2 separate regions of the Homo sapiens genome follow, and region 1 is linked to region 2. The links are contacts of gene promoters, found by promoter capture Hi-C in human tissues and cell types (Jung and others, 2019). All regions are on one chromosome and are shown on one strand. The core of a region is centred on a gene start or on the middle of the fragment in contact, and the rest is flanking DNA. Distances in the headings are between cores, read along the strand shown. Region 1 has its middle 64 kb from the start of CARTPT. Region 2 holds the start of TNPO1 (transportin 1).

Region 1 (5,379 bases), core at 638-3,137, 1.0 Mb before region 2:
CACCCCACTGCAACTCACTATCCTTTTACCCTGACTTACTTTTATTTGTAGCCTGTATCACTACCTACCATGTAACTTATCTATTTATCTGTTTATCATCTGCCTTCCCCTTCTTCCCCACCACACTATAAAATCCATTAGGACAAAATCATTGTCTTGTTCAACACTGTATCACCAGGACCACAGAGTGCCTGAATTATGGTCAGTGCTCAAAAGGGATTTGTTATCAACTGCGCTCTGTCATTTTACACATCAGATACTGAGGTCAGGCAAGGTATAAAGAGAGCAGGGGCAGGAGCAGTGGCTTCCCCTCTGACTGCTCCCACCATGCCAACCATTTCTATTTCTGAGCATGAGTAGAACTCACTACCCATACCCGGCCGCCCCATACCTGACTGTGTACTGCCTTGTCCTGGTCTCGAATCACTACAAATCACGCTTGGCAAGTTTGTATCGAAAGCAATGTTTGCTTTAGTGGGATCTGGCAAACCCAGGGTCCCCAAAGACCACTAAGCAGTCACCAGCACTGAGTTTTAGAAATGGCTGGCTTGTTTTATTACCAGTTAATAGCATTTGTATTTGTGCTTTTGCAAATAACCATGAGAAATCAGTCATCAGGCATGAATGATATGAGAAAATTAAGGACAAGGTCCTAAAAAATGGGCTGGGGATGAGGACTACGGTTCAGTAACTGGATCAAGCGTGTGAAGACTCAGGGGAAAGAATTTACATGGGGTATATGCTGTTCAAGAAGGACTAAAATTCGGGGCCAGATGCTACTGCATCTCCTCCTCCCCCACCACACACACACATTCGAAGGGCTATGGAGGGCACCTTTTTTCTTTAGGGAAAATTATCCCATTTCATTCATCCTACAAACATGAGGAGTGGCTGTGTTTTCAGAAGTGCCAATGAAAATCCCAAGTCCTGGGTCTCTGAGAGATACTTTCTTATGTGGTTAAGAAGAATCAGGATGCATAAACTTGAATCCTTTCTCTACCATTTATTTGCTCTAAGATCTTGGGCAAGTTATGTAAAGTTCTCTCTGTTTTCTATCTGTTAAATGGAAATAAAAATGATACCAGTTGTATGGGTTGTTGTTGAGATTAAATAAAGAACTGCTGGTAAAGTGCTTTTTACATTATCTGCCAAGCAGAAAGGGCTCAATGCATTTTAAATAAGTAAATATATATCCCTGAGTAAAGCAGGGAGGAACCAGCCCAGCCAATGGCTTCCCTGTTTTCAAAACCACCCTGCTTGTCCTTCCAGAGGAATAAGACCAAATTCCTGGGGATTTTGGTTCACTCCTTGGTCAGCAACCCTGCAGATTTATTTTTTCTAGTCATTTCAGGCTCTGTGTCTAATGATGCCAAGTTACCTGGCTTTATGGTGAGTATGAAGCTGAACGCTAACTGCGGAAACTCCCCGGGCCAGGCAAAGCCTTGGAAAGTGAAAGTGGCTGTGAAGGCAAAGGTGCCACCTGGTCTTTCCCTAGGGAGAGCAAGACCCCAAACTGATCCTTATCATGAGATTCTGGGTACTGAGGTGAACTTGGGCTTGCAGCTTTGCAGTGAGTTTGGAGCCCACCTCTTTGAAGGCAGATTTCATGCATGCTTTCTTTGTGTAAAGTATTTTGAGAAAGTAGATGTATTTGAAGATGTTAATTTGGGCAGAGGACTATCCTCAGGTAATGCTGGGTGCACTTGTGGGAGTGGGGCCAAGCACCAGCTACTGCAGATAAATGTGCTGGCTCTGATCTCTGGTACCTCTGTTGAGTGACAAGCTCTTACAGAAACAAAGGAAGTGGCGGTATAGCAGGGACAGTCCCTTGTGGGGACTGTAAATGGCTGAGACTGCTACCATCTGCTCTTCTCGATTCAAATATTTAACAGGAGGTTGAAAACACAGAAGTTCCCATGAAATTACCAGTTTTTTTCCCCCGAACTTAATTTCTGTCAAGGAGAGGGAGGGGTCCCTTGTGTTAAACGTCTGCTTTTCAGTTTTCGAGACTGCCAGGAGATGGCGCCAGGGCTTGGTTCTTAATGGGTTCCTTGGCGCACCAAAGAAAAGACATGCTCGGCGTGGGGATGGAGGCCTCCGTCTCGGCGTTTCCATGTAACTCGTTTCTCAGGATATCTGAACAGAAACCCTGGCCTTGACATTCCTTGGGTTAAATGGGCTTCTTTTTTCATCTGGCCGGGAATTGAGTTTCTGGTCATGGCGCGCTACATTTTCAGTCATCGATTCTCCTCAGAGGGTCGCACGACTGATGTTGTCTCTGGACATATGCTAATAAGAAACCAGAGAGAGCTTGGAGAGGGATTTTGAATGCATTAGAACTTTCCAGCGTGTTGCATAAAAAATAGAAAGTAGAGGTCATGTTATTTGGGAAATAGTAGACGTGTTGTATCATACCGTTTTTTTTTTTCTTCTTTTCAGACCCTTTTCACTGATCTGTTGCTCTTAGCCCAGAAAACGGTATAGCTGATGCCAGAAATTACAGCACGTTCTGCTAGGAAGTGTTTACACTTCAGGGCTGAACTCCTAGCACGATTAATAAACATCACCACCACAACATAAGAACGACTGAGCATGTGGTACCTATCCGCTCATTTAACCCTTACAGTAATCTGGGATATGTCCTTTATGATGTACTTTTTTCAGGCTAGAAAACTGAAGCTTAGGTTCAATAATTTGCCTAAAGTCATTCAACGTGTGATCAGAAGAGTAGAGATTGAAACTCAGACCATCTGACTCCAGGCCCACAAGGTTGTCCCCGGCACCCTACTAGAACAGCAATTTTGGGGGTAACGGGGCACCCCGGAGGCAGTGCTCAGTGGTTCCAGGTAGCTTGGTGTGCAGAGAGGCACCCAGGTATAGAGATGTGGTAGTCGTTTAGTGTTCACTGTGTCATGTGAGCGCTGTGTCATGTCCTGTGGCTTCTCTCAACACCGTGTGCAGAATCCAAACTTCCCCAGGCCTGCAAGCTCTGAGCTCTGTTCCCCTCTCCTATCCTGCTTGGTCACCCTCCAGGCATCTTTCTCCTTCCAGAACTTGCCAAGCCCATTTCTGCCTCAGGCTCTTTGCACCTGAGCTCTCTTCCCTTAACTCCTCACTGGCTGGCTCTTTTTCCTCAGGGCTCAGCGCAGACAGCCCTTTCTCACCCCATGATGTAAGGAGGCTCCCTCTGCCTCAAGGCCTCCTGACTCCTCACTCTGTTTTATTCCTTTATCGCACTTGTAATGATCTCTAAGTATCTTGTTTGCCTGGGTATCGTCTGTTTTTCTCTCATTGGAATGTAAACTCCATGAGGAGGGGATTGGACAGTCTGGTTCATTGCTGTATTCCTGGAACCTAGAACATGCCAGAAACAAAGGAGGTGCTTAATAAACATTTATTGAATAAATATGATGGGGGAATGTGATAAAAGCAGCAGGAGTTGTGGTCCCACCTGTCAGGAGGCTCACAGGACAACGAGAGAGCCCAGGTTGGCATGAAACAACTGAAGATCAATCATGGCAAGGGTGGTAGTGGCCCAGAATAGTGGTCACAAAAACAGATTCTGGGGCTTACCCACCTTGGGAGGCTGAGGCAGAAAGACGGTTTAAGCCCAGGAGTTTGAGAACAACCTGGGCAACAAAGTGAGACCCTGTCTCTACAAAAAAATAAAAAAAATTATCCTGGTATGGTGGTGTGACCCTGTAGTCCTAGCTACCTGGGAGGCTGAGGTGGGAGGATTGATTGAGCCCAGGAGGTCGAGGTTGCTGTGAGTTGTGATTGTACCACTGTACTCAAGCCTAGGTAACAGAGTAAGATCTTGTCTCTAAAATAAAATAAAATAAAAATAGATAAATCCTGACTCCAGTACTCACTGGCTGTGTGATCTTGGCCAAGTTATTTAGCTCTTTCATGCCTCAATTTTCTCATCAGTAAGTTGAAGATAATAATATTAGTAATATTAATACCCACTCATGGAATTGTTTAAGGATTAAATGAGATATATATGAGTGCTTGGAATGGTGACTGGCACATAGTGCTCTATAAATATTTTTTAAGTAAATAAAGGTATAATTAAGCAGAAACCTATGGCTTTAGAAATTCAGAAAAATGAAAATGCCAGTGTTGGGGAAAGCCCTGTTTCTTGGAGGTGGTTGGATTTGGATTGAGGAAGACAGGGAGTCTGAGGGGATATTTGCACTTGCTCTGGTGCCTCATTTCTATGTAAATATCTATTCAAGAAATATTTGTTTATTGATTTATTTTTGTTCAATAAATATTTATTGAGCATTTATTATGTGTCAGTGCCTAGGATGCAGCAATAAAATTGTAAACAGTACAAAATGAATTTCATTGATTTAAAAAAATTTTTTTTCTTTTTTTTGAGGAAGATGCTCTTTTTTCTCATTTCTTGAATTGGATTCTTGACTTGTATACTTTCAGGAAATATTTATTAAGCATGAGCAAAAAATGGTTAGTAAATCATCCCTCCCAGCCCCACCCCCAAAGTATGCTAAGAATTTATTATATATAATGGGAGTTTTTTAAAAAAACGTTAGTATTGTTTGGACTTAACATACAGAATGATGCTCTAGAAAACCATAGCCTCTCTTCTTCCTCCAGCTACAGTCTTTCCTGTCCCAGTTAGGGTACAGGTTCTGAAATGAACCTCGACTGGCTCTAGGTGACTCTGCTGGAGAGAAGTTCAAATTCCTCACTCTCTCCTCTTAGTTCGATTCAACCAACATGCACTGAGAGCTAACTTTATGCAAGGCAGACATGCGAGTGTAGAGAGGGTAATAAAAATGACATCCTTGATAACACAAGCATCTAGAAGAAGTTTAGAATGAATAGTGGCCCCAGGCCTGCAGTGCAGAGAGGAACCATGATGGGAGCCGGAGGGGAACGGACAGAAGGCCCAGGCCCAAGACGGGACTTCATGTCGCAGAGTGAAACTGGCTCCCAGTCCCCAGGTGGAGGTGGCTCTGAAAGATGACAGTGCCTAAAAAATAGCAACAACATTGAAAACACAATGAAATGCTCATTTTTATATTAAGGGAGGGTGAGTTTTAGAGAAGGGCTCTGTGCATTTTCAACAAGGTGGGAGATAAATGGAAAGAAGCCTTCTCTTGGCTGTAAAGACAACATCAAAGCTTCTCTATTGATCCAAGGGAAATAATTACAGCGATATCCTGAGAGAGTCAATGGACTCCCAACATAGAATTCCACGTCTGATTTATGCAATCTCACCCATTCCCAACACATGGCCTCGGGACACAGTGGCAAATAATAACATTTAATTAAAACACATAAAACAGAAGCATCAATGACAGCCAAGTCAAAATCAATATAATGCTAATTTCTAAAGATGGTGCTTGCATG
Region 2 (6,103 bases), core at 2,488-4,987:
AGGCTATCCACTAGGACTTTGCTGACATGAGTAGGATGGGGTCACAATTCTGTCTGTAGTTTTGCCTAGAGTATGCAATTATTGTCAAAAAGTTTTCTGTCTGCCATACTCCTTTTCTGGCCCTTCAGCTGGAGCAGTGTTTTGATGGGGCCTTTTTAGTCTGTGCCATTGGTGTTTCTAGGTTGCTGATGTGTAAAGTTTCAAGTCTCTAAAGACTCTAAAGCAAAAAGAAAACACAGGCAATTAACCATCATGTTGTTCCTTGGGTTCCAAGGTCTCTAGTTGATCTGTCTTCTTTCCACCATTTGGAGACCTTTATGTTTGTTTTATACATAATGTTCAGAAGTTTTAATTATACTTAGTGGGAGGAATAGGGACAAGCATATCTATTCCAACTTCCCAAAAGTGGAAATCTAAGTAGACCTTTTTATAAGCAGAATCATATTATAATCACTAGGACATATTAATACTTAAAGGAGATTTGAAGTTAATTTTTCCCAGTTAATAACTCCCTAATTTATATTTTTAAGAATTCAAACTTTATATATTGGGTTTACTTTAAATGAGAAATGCCTGTAGATTATTTACACATTTCTGAATATTGACTACAATTGTCCTCTTCAATATTTTAATTAAATTCTTCCAAATAATTACTGAAACTTTTTTTCATAATGTCAACCTGAAGATGTTTCAGTGTAAGGCAATTCTTTAAACTACCTAATGTGAAATAATTGTCTTCCAGAAGTATAAATGGTGACAATATTTTAGAAGATCCTATTCTATTTTATTTGTTTATTTTTATTTTTTCATTTATTTTTGAGACGAAGTCTTCCTCTGTCACCCAGGCTGGAGTGCAAATGAATGGCCTGATCTTGGCTCACCGCAACCTCTGCCTCCCAGGTTCAAGCAATTCTCCTGCCTCAGCCTGCTGAGTAGCTAGAATTACAGGTGCCCGCCACCATGCCCAGCTAATTTTTGTATTTTTAGTAGAGACGAGGTTTCACCATGTTGGCCAGGCTGGCCTCAAACTCCTGACCTCAGGTAATCCGCCCATCTCGGCCTCCCAAAGTGCTGGGATTACAGGCGTGAGCCACTGCGCCCAGGCTTATTCTATTTTAGAAGCTTGCCTGTATATAAAAAATTACTTATCTTACTAGGTTTCCATATACTCACCAACAATTGCCTATTAAAGACATTTATTTAACAATTTTTGAATTTCCAGACTTACTTTTTCAATAATATTCCTCCTTCTCAAACATCTTTGATTTATATTAATGTCTAGTAATACTTTCATTCATTGCCCTCTAACAACCTGCCCTGCACTCTGCTAATGAGTTCTTTATGTAACTTATCTTACTTAATCTTGTTTCAGACAAAAGAAAGTGAAGCTCAGAAAGACTGAGCCAAAAGCATTCATAAATGGTAAAGCCAGCATCTGCATATAGGTCCTCTGCCTGCAAGCTCCACACTTGTTTTAACAATGCTACACCTGACAAAATAAGCATCTTGTCATTCCTAGGTGAAAGCTTATAGGTATGTTTTCTCCCTCAGATGCTATTTTGTAACTTCTAACATGTTTTTATTTTTATCTTGGTAAATTTTTCACCTAAGAAAATAAAATTAATACAGAAATTTTAAATATATCTATGTTTTAAAGGTAAAAACAAAGTTTATAAATTTTAACTTCATTTTTGTCATTTAAAAATTATTAATAATTCTTCAAAGTTTTACCACATGAGCATATTTAGGTATAAAGAGAAAATACTACTGGATAGCTGCTATTATATGTGCAAACTGTCAAAGAAAAATAAAATAAGCCATGTTAATAAATCCTTGTTAATAAGATTTACTGTTTAAAACATGTTTTTTTAATTTGACCTAGAAGAGACAAAAAGGCTACATGTGTAAGAATCTCTATTCAACAGAACTATTTTATATTAGTATTTTCATTCACTTTAATTTTTACAAAAGAATACATATTTAATTTGCTTAATCTCAATTTTACAACATCTGATAATCAACATTTTTTTCTTTCAAAATGTTTTGGCCAATAAATCCTCTTATGCTAAATAATATGTTACTTTTTCTTCAATTCATTTCAGCTATTTCCAAACTATTAATCAAGTGAACTCCTACTAATTGCTTAGTCAGTAGTATTTACATCTGTCATTATTTGCTAATCTTTTGGATTTTAGAAATATTTGTGTTTTTTCCTTTAGCAAAGTAGAATGCAAATACTACACATCTTCTGATTTGTATAGATCCTAGTCCACGATGTAACTTTTCAAATGCAGAAATAAGCCATTTGTTATTTGGATAAATATACTTTTTCTGGGTATATTTTCCTGCAGATAAACTACCATTCAGAAAAGTTTATATTACATTTTTTTCTTGGTAATCTACTCCTATTTGGGGGGGGGGGCTCTTTTTGATATACACTACTGTATCCAATTACTATCAAATTAATATTATAACATGTTGAAATCATGAATATTTTAGTTATCTATATTTTCCCTTGCTAAGTTCAATTTCCCAATGATTAAAAAATGGTACTTTTAGTCTCAAATTTTAAGTTAAATAAACTAGTTGTTCCTGCAAAATGACTGTAATTCAAATGAAAATTGTTAACACGTTTAGAAGAACAAATAAATTACCTTAGTAAAAATTTAGACATTTTCTAGTATTATGTACTGTAATTTTACCTAAACTATGACAGGAAGGCAACAACTGTCACACATTTTCAAAATATATACAGCACTTCCAGTAAGATAGTCGGAACTGCTGGTATTTCTACTCACACTGATCATGTGAGGAATATTATCACGGGCATCATCACCTTAGAAAATAAAAATCAGCTAGCTATGCAAATTTTAAGTATTTTTATACAGTAAATTTTACATATAAGAATAATCTGAGGGAAGGAAACTGATATTTATCTCATTACCCTTGTTGCAGTTGGGTATAAAAACGTCCACCACTCCCATTTTGAATCATTTGCCGTACAGAAAATACAGGACATTTTAATTTCTCATGATGGCAGGTTAGGGAGAGAAAGGCTTGTTATTTCTAAGAGCAAGAAACTACAGTTTTATAGGATTGAACACCTGGAGGCGTAAACATTTTATAAATCACTGAATTCTAATTACATAGTAGTTTATACGCCAGATACAACATACGTCAAAAGCCTATCTTGTTCTAAGCGGGCAGCCATCCACCGGCGTCTACCTACCGAAGCCATTTCTGCTTTTTACCAGCGACGCTGGAACAGTGTTATTGTGGGATATGTTCAGTGTTGAACAGGCTCCCAGGGCACGGCTGTTACTTTGGAGGTTATGCTGGGGTACAGAAGTTAGGCTGGGGCAGGGCCATCCACCTAGGAGGGCCCAGCACAGTCTGGGCAACCACACCGGCGGGCCGTTTTGCTCACAGCCCCACCGCGCCGGGCAGCGTCTGCAGCTGCTGCGTGCGAGACCCAGAGGCTCCGGTCAGCGCGCCGGCCGCAGGGAGTGCGAGCACTTGTGAGCCCCGCGCCGGGCCGGTGAAGTCTGGTGCTGCCGAGCCCGCTTAGAAAGCACGGCCGCGCGCTGTCGGACGCAGGCCCACAGGCCCAGCCGACCCAGGCAGCAATTTTCCTAGCCCCGCCGCCGTTGCCAAGGCGACCGCCGCCGAATGTTCCCGCCGCGGGCTCCGCCCCCCGGCCAATCGGACCGGCGCTCGGTGAAGCCCAGATTCTCTTTGTTCCGCAGCCATTTCAGGCCCCGGACAGGAGGCAGTGCCGCTTCGGCCGAAGGCCCGAGCGCCCGAGGCGTCTGGGATGGTGTGGGACCGGGTAGGTGGCGTGAGGGTGCGCGGCCCCGAACTGCAGGGGCGGGAACGGAGGCTGGGAGCGCCGAGCTGCCTGACGCGCCTACGGGAGAGACGCCGGGCTCGCCCGCTCTCTCGGCGCCTGCCCGGCCGTTTGAAGCCGAGAGGCAGCGGCGGCGCGGTTCTAACCCCAACAGCTGCCCGCCCAGGCGCCCTGCGGGACCCGGGTAGGGAGCAGGCGACGGCGGCTCCTCAAGCGTCCGAGGATCCCGTTAGGGGCGGCAGGAGCCCGTTACAAGGGGCGGGAAGGGAAGGGTCTTACATTCAGGGGAGCGTTTGCCTCGCCTGTTAAGCTGTGGCGTTTGAGGGCCCTTGAGTGCTGCAGTCGGCTGCCCCGGGACGGCTGCCTTTCACTGGTTCTGGGCGCTGGCCGGCGCTGCCCGAGATGGGCCAGTCTTTGTCCCGCCCTGGGCCCCTCTGCCCGGGTCTCCTGCGTCCGCACACAGCGCCCATCGTCCTTACATGCAGCTTGCCGTTCTCTTCCTCCCGGCGGTTCTTTCTCCTTGGGGCCTCTTGGCCTCACGACATGTTTACATAATGTTTGTGACTGTACGAGTTTTGCGTGGGCTTGTGGGTTTTGCCCTTCTACCTCCACTCCCATGCGTACAAGCAACAGGGAACAGCTGCTGAGGAGCAGATTGGCCACCACAATCAAGCTATTTTCGGAATGACTTTCTTTAAAAATGATCGCGTGTTGCTTACTGATTTTAAAAATCAACTGGATTTTGCAAGGATTGCTTAGAGTTTAAGTCTGTTATCTTAATCGCTAATCAGGATGGTCTATCAGTAGATGTAAATGTAGAAATTTGAAATTGGAGGCTATCTACAAATTGATTTTGACAGCTGTATTAAGAAGCTTAATAACTGTCCTTTGAAACAGTAATGACTTAAATGATGAATGTGTAAGTGGTACTTTTTTTACCCTAAAGAAAAGATACTTTTAAAATTGCAAGATGTATGGTGTAATAGGTGTTTGGAAATGAAGGTTGTAAAATGGCTGTCCTGACGTACTACTCACTTTTAGAATAACAAAAGTTCCTGCAGCTTTTTAAGTTTCCCTGTTATATCAAAGCTTTCATGTTAGAGTGGTGAAGAAGCTATGTTTAGTGGAAAAGGGGAAAGTTCCGTTTTTTGGGAAAGGATCTGTTTTCCACTTTCACCTTACCTGGCACCGTAGTTGTTCCTAGAGAAGGCTGTGCCAGGATGAAAATTAGCAACCACAAAAGGGAAACAATAGTTTGTAGGTGCAGATATCTTTTTTAGTCTCTAGCTATGCAGTGCATAAATTTATACTAGCTTGGCAGTACGATTTTTACTTCATGCAATTTAACGTGAGCCTAATGAAGTACTAGTGTTCTGTTTTCTTTTTCCTAAAAGGGGCCGCCACCCTTGATGTGGCTGCATCTTTCTCCTAGTCAGGAATTATTAAATTCCTCCCACTGAAATATCTATAAAAATCTTGTTTGCACTTCTACCTCAACTCTCAGTGGCTTTATTACCATTATATAATGTGAGCAGAATAAGATTTTTGTAAAAATACATGATTCTAGTTGTAAGCTTTTCCAATATCAACATTTCTTATTGTATTCATTGTTTTTATGACTGTAGTTTTGCTTATTTATAATTTTAAAGCCATTCCATGAACTCAGTTTTTCTAAATGTTGTAAATGAGCTACTACATTGAAATGTAAACATCTGTATTTAGAAGAATTTCTTGAATTTTAACCATGTTGGATTCTGCAAATGTTTTTTTAAGAAAAGAAACCTGGTTATAAAGTGACGTCAAACCAAGTGACATAGGTAATGAAATAAATGAATTTATCAAATATAAACTGCAGAGAGGAGCACAGCAGTAAGTGGGGGAGTTCTTTTTATTGGCCAGGGTATAAATTGTGATATTTTTTCCTGAGATTGATATTTGAATACATATTGGTGCTAAAAAGATATCTTCCCCCCTCAAAACAGTTTGGTTTACCAGCAAAAGGATGAGAAAGCTGAGAGAATCAAAGAAACTGATGAGGTTTTCAAAAACAATGGCGAACAATGCCATCCTCAAAGAGGAAGGATCAGAAACAGTGAAATTCCCCTGGAGGTTGAGGATTTTTCTTAGTTGACCCTATTCAGCCATTGCCATGGTAAATCTGTTGAGTGTTGGCAGGTGAAGGAGTCTTCTGGGTTGTACAAGGGATGAGCTTCACAATGGAAGACAGATGTTTGCAAGAGTGGTGCCTTAATCCGT

The links. The method cuts DNA at HindIII sites, captures the fragments that hold promoters and counts their contacts. A contact is called where the count stands out against the background at its distance.
Region 1: a fragment that was not itself captured here is called in contact with the fragment with the promoter of TNPO1 in region 2 in 1 of the 25 tissues and cell types used here (dorsolateral prefrontal cortex).

The regions. Positions count from the first base shown.
Region 1 is chr5:71,781,083-71,786,461 of GRCh38, forward strand. No RefSeq gene overlaps it. Among named protein-coding and RNA genes, the nearest start is that of CARTPT, 64 kb to the left of the region's middle. The HindIII fragment of the contact is 4,053 bases long and covers 1-3,914 here.
Region 2 is chr5:72,812,924-72,819,026 of GRCh38, forward strand. TNPO1 (transportin 1) reads left to right here and starts at 3,738. Exons shown (of 25, transcript NM_002270.4): 1 at 3,738-3,829. The coding sequence starts at 3,815. It overlaps TNPO1-DT (TNPO1 divergent transcript), which reads right to left and starts at 3,625. Exons shown (of 9, transcript NR_186518.1): 1 at 3,230-3,625. RefSeq lists enhancers at 3,305-3,384, 4,465-4,514 and silencers at 3,645-3,744, 3,785-4,004. The HindIII fragment of the contact is 3,854 bases long and covers 1,325-5,178 here.